Regions from separate parts of the Homo sapiens genome. Here region 2 is linked to region 1. The links are contacts of gene promoters, found by promoter capture Hi-C in blood cells and fetal thymus (Javierre and others, 2016). All regions are on one chromosome and are shown on one strand. Each heading gives the region's core, a stretch centred on a gene start or on the middle of the fragment in contact. The rest is flanking DNA. Distances are from core to core; before and after follow the strand shown. Region 1 holds the start of LPAR4 (lysophosphatidic acid receptor 4). Region 2 has its middle 12 kb from the start of MIR4328.

Region 1 (3,917 bases), core at 1,002-3,501:
AGGGAGAATAAGGATTAAACTGGTGAAAGGAAGATTAGAGAGGGAGGAGAGTGTTCCAGGCAGAGGAAATAGCACTTAGAAATATCCATGGCATGAGTGATCCTATCTCATTCTAGGGGCTGGAAGAGGATCAATGAGGCTGAAACTCAGAAGGGAGGAAGACTGATGCTAAAAGAGCACGTGACCCAGTGACATTGTAAAAGATCTGCTACATTGGTGAGATTAATCAGCAAAGTACTTGTGTCCTTGAGGGAGAAATGAAGACAGAAGAATTGGAAAACTTATGGCTATTAATTTGAAGAGGAGAAAGGTAGTGAGCTGATCATATAGACAGACAGTGATCATGACTATAGGTTAACCCTTCAATCACTATAGTGCATTGAGTTGCTACAGTAAAGTACTCCTCTCAAAAGCTTTTCTCCTTACCCTTATTTTCCCTTTACAAACTGGTCTCCTTCTCACCTACTCTCACTTTACATCTTCTGCATTTGATCACTTTGCTCTGCCCACCTAGAAATATATCCCCTTCCATTCTTGGTTTATTTAATACTGAATCATCCACCAAAATGTGGCACAAATCCCACTTCTTCTAAGAAACCCTCCTGGCCCTATCCATGGGACTTCATCTCCATCCTCTGATCTATTACAGAACTCAATCTCCATATAACTGCCTTGGTATTTTTTTTTTCAAAATTTACCTTTGGTATCCCACTTTTTTCATGTGTCTTTGTGTCCCTACCTAGACTCTGGCATACTGCAGGGTAGAGACTGTATCTTTCGCCTGTGGACTGACAAATGCACCGAGTACTGGTCTAGGATGAGAGTTGGTAAAAGACCATTTATAAAGACACAGACAATGTCAGCAACTGACAGAAATAGACATATTTGAGATAAGCAGAGAGGGGAATAAAAAGAACAGAGATGGGCGGTGGGATGGAGAAGAGGAAGCAACAGAGAAAGTGTTTTTTTAGAGCCAGTTACAAGTAATAAGGCTAGTGTCAGCTTCACACTAACTTGTTTACTGGCCTCCACTGATAGTGAGAAGAGCCACAATAGAGCTGAACAAATAGGGAGAATAAACAAGCTTGAAACATGCCCTACTTGGGAGGCAGCTTAATTACACAAACTGAAGTTCTGAAGCAAATAGAGGATCCTCCAAGACTCCAGGGGCTCTGCTCTGCCAAGAGAAAGAAAGCACCTTATCCCTGGGCAGAGAATTTCATTCCAGAGGAGGGGGAGGGGCTGCTGTTGGTGGCTTTTGCAGTGGGTGGAGATAGAGTAGAGAAGGCTTGCAGGGGTGGGCTGGCAGAGGGGAAGGGCCAACAATGAAGTTACAGATGGATGAGTGGGTTTCTGCCACAAAATCAGATCAAGGAGAGGGAGGTGAAGAGGAAAATATAGGGAGGAAAAAAAAAAAGAATTGTGAGTGACCAAGGCAGTAAACCTGTAGATAATTAGAAAAGAAAATCTTGCCATGGGGGAGGTGGGCGGAGGTATACAGTTGCAGATAACTCTCTATTGTAAATAGATTGCATCTGTGCTATTTATTTTGTATTTTAGCAAATCTCTGAAATTTTCATGGTAATTAGACTTACTGCGAGGCAGTTACTTGAGAAGTGTAGACCCTCCTTTTGCTACAGAACACTCCCTAGTCCTTGGAAGGTGGGTGTCAGAGCTCTGGGACCCTAGTACATCTCTATCTGAGGGCACTTATCTGGCTTAAGTGAGTGTAGTATTAAAATTTACTTTATATTTTTGTGATGGTGGGAGATTGAATTTTGCACAGTGTGATAGGAATATTTTTATGGTACCTTTCATTTTTGCCTTTTCCTTGCCCCCTACTTATTATTATCAATATTGTTGTAATTATTTTAAACAAGTAGGAGCGAACATGGTATGCATAATTGAAACACTCCTCCTTGTTTGAAATGTTGTCTCCTCCTCTGCAGTCCTGCGGCAAAGACAGGCACACAGGCTTTCTCTGTGGATTAATTGGTCAGGAAAGACACTTTTTATATTGTCAAGTGGCACTTAAGCCATTAATTCTTGACTGTGAAACTGCTTTTCCTGGGCAATGCTCTTTAAGGAAAAACTTATTCAGTCCAGTGACTGGTGACTAAGGGAACGATGGAGCACAGGGAATTGGGCGGGATCTAGACTCCTAATAATGCCTCCTTAGCCAATGAAAAGCATTTCCTATTGAGACCCCCAAGAGTTCCCCTGGCCGTCGGCTCCAGCTCGGACTTCAGGCCTTTTTGTGTCCTGTTTGCTAAAGGCATGCGGGCTACAGCATTCAAGAGAGGGAGTCGTTAACAAAGGGAAAGAGATAAATGTAAATAAGCTCACATTTACAGAATGAGCGGTTTGCAGTAAAAAGCTGCGGCAGCCCAGAGTCTGCTACTTTAGGCTGGGCTAACCTTTCCCTGTAAAAAAAAAAAAAAAAAAAAAAAAAAAAAAATGGATAAAAATATGCACTTCCAAAGGGCGAGTTGCCCATTTACATGTTTATTAGCTAATTATCTACAGGCATCAGCACATTCTCTCATCTAGCACACTCTTTCTTGGGGTAAGTTTCTCTTTTAAAAAGATTTGATTTTGGCGTTTGGGGGTGGGGGATAGCATAACAAACTACAGTGGAAACACTGATGCTTTGAGAGTGTAAGGAAAGAAGTTAGACTTCAACTCTGAAGTACTGAACAAGGATCTTCGTGATGAATGGTAAAAAACGAGAATTTCCATTGTTTTGGCAATAATATTGTTTCCGTGGAAGACATACAGGATTTTCAGGCTGCTGTTTCATGTAAACACAGTTGTTCTAAAGAGCTAATTTAAAATCACAGTGTAGAACAATTTAGAAAGTATGTCGACTAGCTTTGTATTTCTTTGGTTTACAGTTTATTGTGCGCTAACGTGGCTTGTATTATGATGAGGTTTCTTCTAGTAAAACTATACATGACATGTCTTTGATGCTTAATTGATTTATGGAGAATGTGACATTTGCTATATTGAATAATTCATGAACTTGCCCATAAAGGAAGAATCATGTTTGAATGAAAAACTCTGTCATAAACTGAATTTGCAATTATATGTGAAATTAATTGCTGTTTGCCATACAAATGCATCAATGTGTCATCTTTAAACTCTCTTCTTGTAAATTTTAAATATTTTCAGTAAAAAGGTCTTATTGAGTTGCTAAATACAGTATTTCAGTTACCTTTTAAAAGGAAATTCAGCAATGTAATTTATCATTATTTCAGTGTGGAAAAGACCAGACAAATTCAAAGGTTAGAATATTTCAGAGCTTGGTGGGGTTATTCACTTTGCTACCTTACAAAATTATACCATCTTTCTTTATCTTGACTAACATAAAGACAATAATAATAACCTGAGATCCAGATTACCCAATGGCTTTGCAACACGTTTATTTTTCAGAACAAAATTCCCAACATCATATCCCATCAACATAGATTATAAAACCTTTTGCCTTGTCACAGATGAAAAGTTGCACTCTTGCCAAGAAGGATGAGTTCACCTGATAAACTTGATGGCATCTACATTCTAAAGTCTCTCCTGCCAATCAGAGATGGGAATGAAAGCCTTATTGGAACAATCAGGCCAGTCTTTCAGAATGTGTGCTCTCTGCAAGTTAAAGGGAGAACCAGGAAGATGCCTCACAGAAACATTCAGGCCAAGCTTAGCTAAAGCTTGATCTATTCAATTGCCTTTTGGGAAAATGCAGTGAGAATTGTTGCCCTTGCTGTGGTTTGTTCAGCGCCTAATTGTGTAGCTACCTTTTGTCTGTGTATATGGTCATCACATATAGTCTGCCCTTGGCCTTCTTGTTGGGGGAAGAACAAAACCTGTAATGTGTTTGCGAATATTAGTACTGAAAATTGGGAGCCCAATAAAAGGTTACC
Region 2 (3,917 bases), core at 431-2,930, 140 kb after region 1:
AAGGCGGGTGGATCACCTGAGGTCGGGAGTTCAAGACCAGCCTGACCAACCTGAAGAAACCCTGTTTCTACTAAAAATACAAAATTGGCCAGGCGTGGTGGTGCATGCCTGTAATCCTAGCTACTTGGGAGGCTGAGGCAGGAGAATCCCTTGAACCTGGGAGGCGGAGGTTGTAGTGAGCCGAGATCGTGCCATTGCACTCCAGCCTGGGCAACAAGAGTGAACTCTGACCCAGAAAAAAAAAAAAAAGAGTCATTTTAAGAAAATAAAAACCATGAGCAAGTATGTTTACGGAAGAGTGAGGATACACCTGGATGAATTATATCTGAGACTGTTGAATATTTGCTTGCCTTTTTCTCTCAGAAATATTTTTCTTTTCATGACTCACCTCTCCCATTTTTCCCAGATACCATTTCTACTTAGAGGCAGTCTCACTTAGTGTCTGGCTCTTAGAGAGAAATAATTTCAGATACTTTCAGAGTTTCAAAAAAAAATCAATAGCCTTTTTAAGTTCCAAATAAACGAATGTCTAATGGAGAAATTTAAGATGATACTAATATTGGTAGAGTATGTATATTTGACCGATAACGTCTCTTCAAATTATCTTCTTCCACAGTGGATGGTAGTTAGTCCAAATATACTGGCAAGGGGGAGCAAGTGTGAACCAGTTGGAAAAGGTGAAGCAAGCAAAGGAAATGAGAACAAGGCATCAAAAATGCATTTTTTAACAAATAGAAACATAATTTCATTGAATGAGCAAAATTTGGTGCAATAAGGAAGTTTATAAGACTTTGGGTCTTCTCATATTTATATCCAGTATTATAAGCACATACCTCAATTTACTGCACTTCGCTTAATTGTGCCTTGTAGATATTGCTTTTTTTTTTTTTTTTTCCAAATTGAAGGTTTGTGGCAGTCCTGTGACCAGCAAGTTTATCAGCACCATTTTTCCAACAGCAGGTGCTCACTTCATGTCTTTGTGTTACCTTTTGGTAATTGTTACATTTTCATTATTTTTATATAATTAAACTCTTTCATTTTTTTTTGTCTATTATGGTAATCTGTGATCAGTGATCTTTGAAGTTAATACTTTAATTGTTTGGGGACACCATGAACTGCACCCGCATAGCACACGTGAACTTAATTGATAAATGTTGTATGTGTTCTGACTGCTCCACTGACTGACCATTTCAACAGCTCTCCTCCCTCTCCTTGGGATGCAACAATACTGAAATTAGGCCAATTAATAATCCTACACAAACCTCTAAATGTTCAAGTGAAGGGAAATGTTGTATGTCTCTCTTTTTAAATAAAAAGCTATAAATAATTAAGCTTAGTAAAGAAAGCATATTGAAAACTGAGGCTAAAAGTCCTCTTGTGTCAGACAGCCTAATTGTGAGTGGAAAGGAAAACTTCTTAAGGAATGTTAAAATTGCTACTCCACTGAACACACAAATATCAGGGAAGTAAAACAACTTATTGCTGATATGAAGAAAGTTTTAGTGATCTGGATAGGTCAAACCAGCCATAACATTCCCTTAAGGCAAAGCCTAATTCAGAGGAAGATCCTAATTCTCTTCAATCCTGTGAAGACTGAGAGAGGTGAGAAAGCTGTAAAAGTTTGAAGCTAGCACAGGTTCATGAGGTTTAAAGAGCCATAATATAAAAGTACAAGGTGAAGCAGTAAGTGCTGAGGTAGAAGTTTAAGCAAGTCATTGATAATATTTATCTATAATATTTCATCAATATTTAAGATAATGGGTGAAGTTAGCTACAATAAACAACAAATGTTCAAGGTAGATGAAACAGCCTTATACTGGCAAAAGATGCCATGTAGAACTTTCATAGCTAAAGAGAAGAAGTCACCACCTGGCTTTTAATCTTCATAGGCTAGGCTGACACTCTTTTTAGGAGCTAATGAAGCTGGTGACTAAGTTGAAGCCAGTGCCTACTTACAATTCTGAAAATCACAGGGTCCTTAAGAATTTTGCTAAATCTATTCTGCCTGTGCTCTATCAATGGAAAAACAAAGCTTGGATGACAGCATGTCTGTTTACAGAGTAGTTTACTCAATATTTTAACCCCACTTTTGAGAACTACTTCTCAGAAATAAAAACTATTTATTTCACAATGTTACTGCGTATTGATGATACATTAAGTGATCCAAGAGCTTTCATGGAGATGTACAAGAAGATTAATACTGTTTTCATGCCTGGTAACACAACATCTATTCTGCAGCCCATGCATCAAGGAGTAATTATGACTTTAACGTCTTATCATGTAAGAACTACATTGTGTAAAGGTATAGATGTAATAGCCTTGCAAAATCCAATGATTCCTCGGATGGATCAGGCAAAGTCAATAGAAAACCTTCTAGAAAAAGAATCACTATTCCAAGTGCTATTAAAAACATTTGTGATTCATGGGAGAAGGTAAAATTATCAAAATTAACAGAGCTTTGAAAGAAGTTAATTCTAATGCTCATGGATGACTTTGAAGCGTTCAAGAATTCAGTGGAAAAGGAACTGCAGATGTGGTGGAAATACCAAGAGAACTGGAATTAGAAGTGGAGCCTGAAGATAGGCCTGAATTACTGCAATCTCATAATAAAACTTGAATGGATGAGGAGTTGCTTCTTATGAATGAGCAAAGAAAGTGTTCTTTTGAGATAGAATGTACTCCTGGTGAAGATGCTGTGACAATAGTTTAAATGACAACAAAGGCTTGAGGATATTCCATAAACTCAGTTGATAAAGCAGCAGCAGGGTTTGAGAGGATTGACTCAAATTTTGAAAGAAGTTCTACTGTGGGTAAAATGCTATCAAACAGCATTGCATGCTACAGAGAAATCTTTGTGAAAGAAATAGTCAATTAATTCCGCAAACTTCATTGTTGTCTTATTTTAAGAAATTGCAACAGCCACCTCGGCCTTTAGCAACCACTACCCTGGTCAGTCGGTAGCCATCAACATTAAGTCAAGAACCTTTAACAGCAAAAATATTACAACTTGCTGAAGGCATAGATAATCATTAACCATTTTTAGCAATAAATAATTTTTACATTAAGATATATACATCATTTTTTAGACAAAATGCTATTGCAAACCTAGCAGACTACAGTGTCATGGAAACTTAACTTTTATATGTATTGAAAGATTAAAAAAAATTATTGTGATTCACTTTATTGCAATACTCACTACACTGTGGTTGTCTGAAACCAATTCTGCAATATCTCCAAGGTATGCCTGCATTAACACAAGGAAAAGGCAACCTATGAAATGGGATAAAATATTTGCAAAACTTTTGTCTAATTAGGGGTTAATATGGAACACATATAAGAAACTCCTACAACTCAATGATAAAAACCCAAATAACCCAACGAAAAAATGGGCAAATGACTTTAATAGACATTTCTCCAAAAAAGACACAAATGGACAACAGGTGTTTGGAAAGGTTCTTTATATCACTAATCATCAGGAAAATGCAAATCAAAACCACAATGATGTATTATTTCACACCTGTCAGTATGGCTATTTAAAAATACAAAAGAGTGTTGGTGAAGATGTAGAGAAATTAGAAGTTTTGTGTGCTATTAGTGCAAATATTCAATGGTATGGCCACTATAGAAAATAGTAAAAAATTAAGAATGGAAATGCCCTATGATCCAGCAATTCCACTTTTGGGTATACATCCAATGGAATTGAAATCATCATCTTGAAGAAGTATCTTCACTCCTATGTTTATTGCAGGAGTATTCACAATAGCTAAGATGAAAACAACCCAAATGTTCATGAACAGATGAATGAAGAAAACAAATGTATATTTATTACTTTTGAAAAACATGGGGTCTCACTGTATAAGCTGGACTTGACATCCTGGGTTCAAGAGATCTTTCCATATCAGCATCCTGAGTAGCTG

Evidence for each region. The method cuts DNA at HindIII sites, captures the fragments that hold promoters and counts their contacts. A CHiCAGO score of 5 or more calls a contact.
Region 2: a fragment that was not itself captured here is called in contact with the fragment with the promoter of LPAR4 in region 1 in 1 of 17 cell types (fetal thymus); the score reaches 5.6 in fetal thymus.

What each region holds. Positions count from the first base shown.
Region 1 is chrX:78,745,469-78,749,385 of GRCh38, forward strand. LPAR4 (lysophosphatidic acid receptor 4) reads left to right here and starts at 2,252. Exons shown (of 5, transcript NM_001278000.3): 1 at 2,252-2,566. The HindIII fragment of the contact is 2,609 bases long and covers 1,083-3,691 here.
Region 2 is chrX:78,887,092-78,891,008 of GRCh38, forward strand. No RefSeq gene overlaps it. Among named protein-coding and RNA genes, the nearest start is that of MIR4328, 12 kb to the right of the region's middle. The HindIII fragment of the contact is 700 bases long and covers 1,331-2,030 here.